Linked DNA regions of Homo sapiens: region 1 is linked to region 2. Evidence: promoter capture Hi-C in human tissues and cell types (Jung and others, 2019). All regions are on one chromosome and are shown on one strand. Each heading gives the region's core, a stretch centred on a gene start or on the middle of the fragment in contact. The rest is flanking DNA. Distances are from core to core; before and after follow the strand shown. Region 1 has its middle 10 kb from the start of CRYGD. Region 2 holds the start of C2orf80 (chromosome 2 open reading frame 80).

Evidence for each region. Contacts are between HindIII fragments. The study calls those that stand out against the background at their distance.
Region 1: a fragment that was not itself captured here is called in contact with the fragment with the promoter of C2orf80 in region 2 in 3 of the 25 tissues and cell types used here (bladder, mesendoderm cells and sigmoid colon).

What each region holds. Positions count from the first base shown.
Region 1 is chr2:208,111,236-208,116,920 of GRCh38, forward strand. It overlaps the pseudogene CRYGEP. Among named protein-coding and RNA genes, the nearest start is that of CRYGD, 10 kb to the right of the region's middle. RefSeq lists an enhancer at 255-995. The HindIII fragment of the contact is 3,861 bases long and covers 1,890-5,685 here.
Region 2 is chr2:208,188,555-208,194,666 of GRCh38, forward strand. C2orf80 (chromosome 2 open reading frame 80) reads right to left here and starts at 1,476. Exons shown (of 9, transcript NM_001099334.3): 1 at 1,399-1,476. The HindIII fragment of the contact is 5,855 bases long and covers 1-4,362 here.

The DNA.
Region 1 (5,685 bases), core at 2,570-5,069, 75 kb before region 2:
TTTTCTGCTTGGAGCTCAGGTTCTAGATCCCCTTCTGAGCCTTCTAATGACATTTTTTCTGTCTCGGTTAAGAGCTGATCAGTAATGTCATTTCCTTCTCAAATCTGACTTTGAGACTTTCTCTCTCTCTCTCTCTCTCTCTATATATATATATACATATATACACACACATATATACATATATATATATGTATGTATCTTCTTTAGGGAAGATTCTCATGAGCAATTCTTTTTGAGGTTTGAGTGACTGCTAGTGAAGTGGATCTTACAGTCTGTAATTAGAAGAGTTGGTACTTGAAATTAGAAATCTAAGTTTTTGGGCTCCAATGCCAGACTGGGTCCTTATCCAGCTATTAAACCCTGTGAGGGGATTTCAGACTTCACAAAAGTGGTTCATTTTCCCGGGACTCTGTCACAGTCAACTTAGGGAATCCCTAACTGTGAAATTTCAGGCTGCTGGGGCTTCATTTAGGTAACAGTGGGCCCTGCAGGAGCTATTGGAATCTCATTGTTGGTTACTGGTTTGCCCAATCAGAAGGCAGGACTTGAGAGACCCTTGATGTTCATAATAATAGTTAATACTCGGGGTTGGGGATTGGCATGTGCCAGGCACCCTCCTTTTACCCTCATTGGAACCCTATAAAGGAACTACTCTCATCAGCCCTTTTTACAGATGACGTAAAAGAAATAGCCACCTAGCCTATGGCCACCTGAGAGCAAGGAATTAATCTGTTGCTGTTTCATCACCTGTGGCATAGACGCTCTGAGCTAATGCCACGCACAACTTATTCCCAGTAGAGGTGAATTTGACTTTAGCAAAATAAAATAAAATGACCAGTTAAAAGCACTGCATCACATACTTTTTCAGTGGGAGGAAACCTTACGCATGTTAATAAAGGAAAAGAGAATATAGTTAGAGCCAGAAAAAAGAAGCCTGCCATCGCATCCCATCGCCTGTCGTGTGAATCATCCACGTGGATCACTGATGCGACTCGAGGGCACGGAAGGGCCCGGGTGGGACTGCACTCACGTGGGGGATGAGGCGGCAGGAGCGGACCGAGTCGCTGAGGCCCATCCACTGCTGGTGGTCGGCATAGTCGCCGCGGCGCAGGAACTACTGGAGGCCCGAGTAGTTGGGCTGCTCATAGAGCACCCAGCAGCCGCTGTCCACGCGCACCGAGTTGCAGCGGCTCAAGTAGGGCTGCAGGTTGGGGTGGTCGCTGCTGCATTCGTAGTGGCGGCCCTGGAAGCCCCGGTCCTCGTAGAGGGTGATCTGCAAGGCAAGGCGAGGCAAGGCGAGGTCTCACAGGCCTGCCCCTGCCCCAGTCTCCGGCCCCCGCCATGCAGGGAGCTACCGGGGGGCACGGGCTGGGCTCACCTTCCCCATGGCTGGCTGGGCGCACGGCGGGGCTGAGCGGGTGGGGCGGCAGCGCGGCGGGGCTATATAGCAGGAGGGCTGCTGTGTTGGCAAGAACCGCACAAAAGGGGCCCCCGGAGGGGAGCAAGGGCATTTTTTTTTCTCTCTCTCTCTGTTCCATATAATGACTGTAGGGGAGGGGGTGGGAGGTTTATTGTATGTTTTCTTTTAGACTCTCTAAAGCTTTCGAATTGATGATCTGGTTAAAACTGTCACTTAGTGCCATTTGGGCCTTTACATAAAGCCTATTTGGGAAATTGGAATTGAGCAAGTGCTTAAGAGTTAGTAATTGTAATTAAATGTTTTATTTACCTTTTAAAAGTTCAGTTTGAGCAACAAAGCAGAATAGCGACCAAGTCTAAGGTCGAAATAGACTACAGCATGAGGCTGTATTGTTTAGATTGGTGTGAAATGTGAAACGTGAGGATGAACTTGCCTTCTCCTCGGGCTGTTTACAGTAGGATGTGATTCTCCTTTAAGAGAACCTCTCTATGATCCTACCTGCTGATAAGCAGGGTATCAGATAACTAATGCAGGAGGTTGGACGCCAGGGGTTGGGCCTGGGGAAGCCCTATTTAGGCACCTGGCCTCAGCTCTGATCCCTGGAGCCTGGGTGGAAGCAGGGAAGTCTTCAGCTTCAGCACCGTGCCTGCCTCAGCACAGGCAATGAAACTCTCAACTGTGGGATTCATGAAGTGACACTTTGGCGGTTATTACACTGGTAACTTTCTATTTAACAACTTTGCTAACTAAAGGCTAAGCTTAGTTGGTTCTAGCTGCTGACAAATGCAAGTTAACATGCAAATATAACACATTGAAGATCCTGCAATCTTGCAAAGATTCTGCCTTCTTCACCCTGGGGCAAAACCCTCGTGGCTCTCTAGTTAAGGCTCTGACTCCAGGGACTGGGGTCTTCCTTCCTTTTGCCGGGACCCTGTCCCTCCTGGTGTTCCACTCTCTTTAGAGCAAGGTTTCTCAACCGCAGCACTCTTTTGACATTTGGGGCCCAAAAAATTATCTGCTGGGTGGGGAGGCTGTCCTGTGCATTGCAGGACATTGAGCAGCATCCTGGCCTCTACCATCTGGGTACCGGTAGCATTACTGTCCGGTCGTGACAAGCAGAACTGTCTGCAGACATTGCCAAAGGTTCCCTGGAAAGCAAATCCACTCCCCATCCGCACTAAGAACCACTGATTTAGAATAACTTTGGTGCACCCAGTCTCACTCCTTAGTTTGGATTCTTGCTACCTAAGTCTAATACTAAAAAATAGCTTTCTCTGGACAAATTTTATGTGATCCACGTAAGTTTAATAAGCCTCATTTACATATTTCTCTTTTAAAAATTATAACTTTTGTGGAAAATTTAGAAACTATAAAGCAGTAGAAAGGAGAAAAGATTTTAAGCCGTAGTTTTGTATAAAAAGTAGCACTGTTGATGTATATTTAAAAACTCCTAATTCTCACACCTGTGATCTAATATTTCCATCTCTAGGAATTTGTCCAATGGAAAAAATTAAAGATGCATACAAAGATTATGAACAGTGATATTTTATCAGAATGGTGTTTATAATATAGAAAATTAGATACAAATAAAATGTCCAGAATAGGGCATTGTTTAAATAAATCATGGAACACTTGTTTGATGAGATGCTATGCAGCTACCAAAAATCATGTTGTCAAAGAATTTATTTAAGGGTATGGAAAATGCTTACCATATGTCAAGTTAAAAAAAAAAACAAGTATATTATACTCTGAAAATTACAAAATATTGAAAGAAATTAAAGAAGACATAAATAAGTGGAAACACATCCTATGTTAATGGATTGGAAGACAATATTGTTAATACATCAGTACTACTCAAAGCAATCTGCAGATTTAGTGCAATCCCTATCAAATCTCAATGATTTCCTTATGCAGAAAGAGAAAAATCTATCCTAAAATTCATCTGGAATCTCAAGGGACCCCAAATCAACAAATTAGTCTTGCAAAAAACAAAGTTGGAAGTTCCTTATTCCTTATTCCTAATAAGGAATGCTGACACATGGCACATATGGAAGAACCTTGAAAACATGTGAAGGGAAATAAATCAGACACAGAGGAACAAATATTGTATGATTCCGTTTATTTGAGGTACCTAGAATAGTCAGTTTCGTAAAGACAGGAAGTGGAATGGCAGTTACCAGGGATTGGGGGAGGTAGGATTGGGGAGTTATGGTTTAATGAATACAGAGTTTCCCTCAAAACTAAAAGTCTTTTAGCACATGTACCACCCCTAGAATTTCTGGTAAACCAGCACCAGCCTGAAGATCACGTTCTCATCAAAGGGTGAAAAAAAAGGAAACTCGAACCAGCCTACGAAGGACCCTTGTGCTGCTAACCACCGAGACTTCTGTTCGTACAGCGAAAAAAGGATGGACTCATCACAACCGAGTCAAGAAAGTGCCACCCTCTCCAGAGTCGTGGGCCATAGTCCCAGGGGAAAACCCTACCAAACTAAGCTAAGAAAAATTTAACTTTTTCATCTATTCTATTACTCTTTCTTCTTTTCTCGCTCTATTACTGACCATCTAGTTATTACCATAACCAAGTCAATTTCACCTCAAACTATTGCATTTAATGCTTTCCTTGTTATACCCTGTGGGTATACCCTGTGGGGACTTGCCAAGTCAAAGACAGCTCTCTACTTCAGAAAAGTACCTCTGTCCCTCCTGACTCTCCTCAGACTGGGCATTAGTAAATTAGGACCATTTAATCTGGGGAAATTTTGATTAAAGACTCCAGTGTCAACCAGGAGTCTTGCCCCTCAATGTAGAGCTTTTATGCCGCAGTTTGTCCAACATTCTGTGGACCACTAAAGAGCAAGGATGGACTGCCCCGACCGGTTTTTGTAATTTCCTAAAATCATATGTTCATTTTACTAGAGGATCATAAAAGTTAAAGACTTAAAACAAACTTTGTCAATTAAGACAGGATACCAAGATGCAAATACCTGGTTGGAATGGATCAAATATTCCATCAGCACGTTAAACAAAAGCAATTGTTATGCTTGTGCGCAGGGCAGGTCAGAGGCCCAGATTGTCCCCTTTCCACTAAGGTGGTCCTCCAGTCGCCCAGGCGTGGACTGCATGGTAGCTCTTTTCCAGGATTCTACAGCCTGGAGTAATAAGTTGTGCCAAGCTCTCTCTGCTATATCCCAAAGTCCAGCACCCTGCAGGTCAGCCCCCAAGGGCCATCCAGTTTCCGTCTCCCAACACTAAGTTCACTTCATGACTCTCACAACAGGGAGGAAACTTAGAGTTCCTTGGAGACCTGAAGGGATGCAGTGAGCTTAAGAATTTTCAAGAGCTTATCAATCAGTCAGCCCTCGTTCATCCCCGAGCGGATGTGTGGTGGTATTGTGGCCGAATAACTGGAGTGGCACTTGTACTTCAGTCCAATTGGCTTGCCTTTCGCCCTGGGATTTTGTCAACCAGAGGGAGGAAAAATAAGACATTGTAAAGCGAGAAAAGCCCCTTATGGGTCTTTCGACTCTCACGTCTATTTAGAAGCAATTGAAGTCCCACGGGGAATACCAGATCAATTTAAAGCTTAAAATCAAATAGCTGCAGGATTTGAGTCAATATTTTGGTGGGTGACGGTTAATAAAAATGTAGATTGGATAAACTACATCTATTACAACCAACAGCAATGAGCTTTTCATGAGTTAAAAGAAAAAACTCATGTTGGCCCCAGCCCTGGGGCTACCTGAACTGGCAAAACCCTTTACACTCTATGTGACAGAAAGAGAAAAAATGGCAGTTGGAGTTTTAACCCAGACTGTGGGGCCCTGGCCAAGGTCAGTGGCCTATCTCTCAAAACAACTGGACAGGGTTTCCAAAGGCTGGCCCCCATGTCTAAGGGCCCTGGCAGCAACGGCCCTGTTAGCACAAGAAGCAGATAAACTAACTCTTGGGCAAAACCTGAATATAAAGGCCCCTCCATGCTGTGGTAACTTTGATGAATACCAAAGGACATCATTGGCTAGCAAATGCTAGATTAACCAAGTGCCAAAGCTTCCTATGTGAAAATCCCCACATAACCATTGAAGTTTGCAACACCCTAAACCCCACCACCTTGCTCCTGGTATCAGAGAGCCCAGCTGAACATAACTGCTACTTGGGCACAAGACAGCTCGTGGGGATACCAGACCCCCATTTACATGCTCAATTGAATCATACGGTTACAAGCTGTCTTAGAAATAATCATTAATAAGACTGACAGAGCCTTGA
Region 2 (6,112 bases), core at 226-2,725:
CCTGCCTCAGCCTCCCAAGTAGCTGGGACTACAGGTGCACGCCACCAAGCCCAGCTAATTGTTTTGTACTTTTAGTAGAGACCGGGTGGTGTCATCATATTGGCCAGGATGGTCTCCATCTCCTGACCTTGTAATCCACCTGCCTCAGCCTCCCAAAGTGCTGGGATTACAGGCGTGAGCCACCGTGCCCAGCCATTTTGGATCATTCTTGCTGCTGCTACATCTGCTTTAGTTTTTGGGGAGTGGACGGGATGTGGATAAGATGAAAGTGGGGAAGAAAGTAAGAGCATTTCACAGGAAATTGATTAAGTATCAAGACAATAATATTGCTCCCTACAGAGTCAATGGGGAGAGGATGCAGCAAGCCATAGAGGTGGCCCTATTGCCTAGAGAAGAGAGAGCACTGGACCCAGGAAAGCCACACTCATTGATGTGGCTGTGCGTCTTCTGCTTCCCAGCCTCAGGTGTTATCCGAAAAAGATGGGCCTGGTTAACATTGCCAAGAGCACTTCTTACCCTAACATTCTGTAACTCTATAAAGTCTGGCATGCATTAAAATTCTTCTGATTCAATAGTTTGGAAAAACATTTGTTGCTAGACTATTTGGCCTATCTCAATTCCTTGGCAGGGAGTAAGGCACAGTTAGCATGTGCTTTAATCCATTCTTGTCTTGTAATTCTGAGAAAGCCCTTTGAGTTTCAGATTTACAAGTTATAATATTTGCATTGCTTCGTTGTTATGACAGCTTCGTCTTAGATCATCCCTCATCCTCCCCATCCCCTGCCCCCACCACCACCATTCAATATGGTATAATATGCAAAGGTTTCAGTCTTTAAAATATGAGTATGTCCCACTCCCAAACCACTAAACTGTAGGTCAGAAGACCCTGTGAGGCCACCAACTAGCTGTGCACCTTGAACAAATTAATTTGCCTATGTTTTTTCATTTCTTCCTCTGTAAAACAAGCGTTGAATGATTGGAGAGGTCCCTTACAGCTGTGGAAGTCAGTGATTTATATGCATTTAGTAGCTACGCCTGGTCTAAAGAAGGCCATTTGCATGGATTCTAATTCAGCTAGATTTGAATTCTGCCAGTTATCCCTCTTCTCTGTCTATAGAGCTCTAAAGAAAACAAGACCGCTGTGTGTTTTGTGTGTGGCTGAAAGCACACACAAAAGAGGTACTGGAAAGATGTCAGCTGTCTCAGGCTTTAGCTGTTTCATAGAAACAATTCCCTAGAAGTCAGAGCCCCCAAATTCTATAGGAATATCATTTCCTGGAGAATATCTGCACATTCCATGCAGGTTCCCTGCTGCACACCTGCAATCGTGGTACAGGTCTCTCGGGCTGTTCTATTAAGTGCCTGCTCTTAACAAATTCCCCTTTGAGAATCGCTCACCAACCGGAGACCGGTTCCAGTGCTTTTGTTCTTTCTCTGCTTCTGGAGGCATGCTGAAGCATCCGCGCATCTCAGACTGGTGCTCACAGACATCAGGAACACATGCTTTTTCCTGGTTGCTAGGAAACAGTGAATGAATTAAAATCATTTGTTTTAAAAATACACTCCCCTACGCCCACCCCCATTAAGGGTTGAGGGAGGGTGGAAAGTCATATATTTGGGACAGGATTGTGATCCTGGCCTGAAGTTCACGTGTCTTTTTACCTGAGTAGGCTTATGTTTCCCATCTAAATGATTAATTGAAAAACCAAGAGGATGGGAGGAGTTTACCTTCCCCAGAGTTTTTTATAGCATTTGGCTGCAGACATAGGAATCAATTGACTAAGCAAGGATTGCTGGGGAAGCTAGTGAAACTCTGGCTCCTACATAGTTAGGGTGCCCCAAAGTACCCAATGACCCAAAGATCATTCTACTCGATGAATGTCAATACAAAACAGTGGCAATCCTGAAGAAACATCACCTGGGTTCAAGCTAGCACCATCTTTCTAATTATAGATGAGATCCCTTTCATGTGCGTCTGTGTGAAGAGACCACCAAACAGGCTTTGTGTGAGCAACATGGCTGTTTATTTCAACTGGGTGCAGGCGGGCTGAGTCCGAAAAGAGAGTCAGCAAAGGGTGGTGGATTATCATTAGTTCTTATAGGTTTTGGGATAGGCGGTGGAGTTAGGAGCAATGTTTTGTGGGCAGGGGGTGGATCTCACAAACTACATGCTCAAGGGTGGGGAGAATTACAAAGAACCTTCTTAAAGGTGGGGGAGATTACAAAGTACCTGCTTAAGCGGGGGGAGATTACAAAGCACATTGATCAGTTAGGGTGGGGAAGAAACAAATCACAATGGTGGAATGTCATCACTTAAGACTATTTTTACTTCTTTTGTGGATCTTCAGTTACTTTAGGCCATCTGGATGTATATGTGCAAGTCACAGGGGATGTGATGGCTTGGCTTGGGCTCAGAGGCCTGACAATCCCTGCCCACACGCCTGCCTCCTAGTCTTAAACACTTGCTCCCTTGCTTAAAGCTTGTTAATGGTTTCTGTCTGTGTCTCCTCTATACCACTAGACTAGGGGCAGAGTTTGTTCTTCTGGCCCATCTACGGCTGGGTGTCTGTTATTGACACCTCTTAATCTTTATTTCCACTCCTTTCCACTGGCCAAGTAAGTCACTTGATTACCTGAGGTCATATTATGAAAGACACTAACAAAACCCTAGATATAGAATTTTCTAAACTAGTTGTTCACTCCATATTGAGTTTATATTGTACCTAGACACTTCCGGGTTTGGTGAGCCTGAAGTTTATACATTATGGGGACCGTCTTTAATAAAAAGAATGCAGAATTGTAAATATGAAACTAATACAAAATTGTATGTTTATTTAGAACTATTAATTACAAGTTACAAATTTTAAAGAGCTGAAAAATACCACAAACAAAAAATCAGTATTAATATTTTCATGATTACTAACTGCCTAACATACACTAAAATTCCTTTTTTTCTTACATACTCTTTGATTATCTGTTAATAGGACCAAGGTTTCATAGTATTTTCTATAGAGAGAATTAAAAAATAATTCAGTCTCTCCTCTACTATGACTGTTTACTTTTATTTATTTATTTATTTATTCATTTTTTTGAGATGGAGTTTTGCTCTTGTTGCCCAGGCTGGAGTGCAATGGTGTGATCTTGGCTCACCACAACCTCCGCCTCCCGGATTCAAGCGATTCTCCTGCCTCAGCCTCTGGAGTAGCTGGGATTACAGGCATGCGCCACCACGCCCGGCTAACTTTGTATTTTTAGTAGAGACAGGGTTTCTCCATGTTGATGAGGCTGGTCTTGAACTCCCGACCTCAGGTGATCTGCCCGCCTCGGCCTCCCAAAGTGCTGGGATTACAGGCGTGAGCCACCGCACCCAGACAATTTTTTATTTTTTAATTAATTTTTTTTTTTGTAGCAATGAGGTCTCACTATGTTGCCCTGGCTGGTCTCAAACTCCTGGGCTCAAATGATCCATCTGCCTTGGCCTCCCAAAGTGCTGGGATGACAGGCATAAGCCACCACGCCCAGCCATTTTCAATTTATTCTAATATTTTGTTTATAATTAAAACTAAACTGTAGGCTGGGTGTGGTAGCTCATGCCTGTCATCCCAGCACTTTAGGAAGCTGAGGTGGGTAGATTGCCTGAGCCTAAGAGTTCAAGATCAGACTGAGCAACATGGCAAAATCCTGTCTCTACAAAAAATGATAAAAACTAGCTGGGCATTGTGGTGTGTCCCTACAGTCCAAGCTACTCAGCAGGCTGAGGTGGGGGGATTGCTTGAACCCAGGAGGCTGAGGCTGTAGTAAGCTGTGATTACACCCCTCCACTCCAGCCTGGGTGAAAGAGTGAGGCCCTGTCTCAAAAACAAACAAACAAACAAACAAACAAACAAACAAACCAAAAAAACAGAAAATAAACTGAGTTATTTTTCTTTTTGACTCCCTATTGTTGATACCTCATTATAAGGTGTTCCACAATTTCTTGATCAAGAGAGCTTTTCACCCAAAGGCAACCTTGGAGAACTTCAACCTTGACCTTGCTAGGCTTGTTCATCCCTGTTAACTCCCTTACCCCTGCCCCCAGCTGAGGCTGCTGCAGCTGGTCCAACTCAGCCAAGTGTTCATCGATCCCAATAGTCACCTTCCCAGCTTCAGTCCTTGAAGGCAAATAGAAGGTCCACGTGTGCAGTGGTCTATCAGGGGCTGGTCATTGCTAAGACTCACATTGATGGAGGTAGTGATGGCAGTGTGCCTATCCCGATGCCATGCCAGTGAGTCAGGAGTTGGGCAGGACTGGTTTTACAAGGTACAGATCACAAAGACCCGGCTGATAAAATGATATGTAGTAAAGAAGCCAGTCAAAACCCGCCAAAACCAGATGGCGATGAAAATGACCTCTAGTTGTCCTCACTGCTCATTATATGCTCATTATAATATATTAATATGCTAAAAGATACTCCCACCAGCACCGTGAAAGTTTACAAATGTCATGGCAACGCCTGGAAGTTACCCTATATGGTCTGAAAGCAGGAGGAATTCCCTCAGTTCCAGGAATTGCCCACCCCTTTCCCAAAAAACTAATGAATAATCCATCCCTTGTTTAGCATATGATTTTTAAAAAACATAAAAATAAACATAAAAAACCCACAAAAACATAAAACATAAAAAAACATAAAAATAGCCAACCAGCAGCTCTGCCTATGGAGTAGCCACCCTTTTATTCCTTTACTTTCACTTTACTCTGTTGGCTTGCTCTTGAATTCCTTAATGTGCGAAGGCAAATATCACAGGGCCTTTGGTGTTCAGCCTGTGACATCCTTTCTGACAACAAATGAAGGGACAATGGAGACCTCCCCCTGAAACCCAGACTAAAACCAATTGGCACCATTCAGACCTGATGGGTGGGTGAGTCTCCCTTTGTCCAATTTCAACTTGCTACTTTTTTTTCCCCTTTGATTTTGGCTCCTCTGTCCTTTCCTATGTTCGTTATTTTAGACAGGTGGGGAAGTGGCTGTGAGACCTCTGGCTTGGTAGCCTGATTGCAGTCTTCTGTTGTGTGGGTGCCCCAGACATGCAGCATGCCTGGCAAGTCATGTCCTTTGTAACCCACCTTGTCATCCCTTCTCTTGAACCCAAAAGTCAAAGAGATCAGATAATGCAATGCAAAACAGAGCAAAGCCTTAGATTTTGAGAGGAATCTATCTACTTAGAATTCCTGGGGTTCCGGCCCAGCGCCGTGCCTCACGCCTGTAATCCCAGCACTTTGGCGGGCGGATCACGAGGTCAGGAGATCGTGACCATCCTGGCGAACACGGTGAAACCCCGTCTCTACTAAAAATACAAAAAATTAGCCAGGCATGGTGGCGGGTGCCTGTAGTCCCAGCTACTCAGGAGGCTGGGGCAGGAGAATGGCGTGAACCCGGGAGGCGGAGCTTGCAGTGAGCCGAGATTCCGCCAAAATTGTGCCACTGCACTCCAGCCTGGGCGACAGAGCAAGACTCTGTCTCAAGAAAAAAAAAAAAAAAATTCCTGGGGTTCCATGAGGAAAACAGAATTTTTTCCCAAAACGGAGTCTGTGGCATGCTTTCAAATATAAACAGACTGCTTTAAGGAGTCAAAGTTGACTTATAGAGCCAATAAAAGCCCCTTGGGAAAACTGGCCTCACACCTTGTCTATGCAGTCCCTGTACAGGGTTCTTGACTTGTGGTAAGTAAAAATGTCACTTTCTGACAGGCCCAGGAGCCCCAAGTTACCTTGGGACCTCGAGAGGAGAGGAATTCACCCAACTCATAAAGGCGTTTGTTGGCACAGATAAATCTGTGGCTGGGCTCAAGACCTTAAAAAACCTAATCTGAGATTATTTATGTAACAAAGTTCCATCAAAGCCTATTTACAAAGAGCCTATATGGCAGATAATTATTCTTGCTGCCCTTTATGCAAAAATCAGGCAAAATATAATAAGACTAAAACTTATTTTGCAAACAAATTGGTCCTACCACGATTTATCTTTTATAAAAATGAGAGACTTCAGAGAGAAAAAATTATACTACAAAAAACTATAGTACACGTGTTGTTAGATTCTAGTCTTGACCATTGTTTTTTGGGTTTTTATTATTG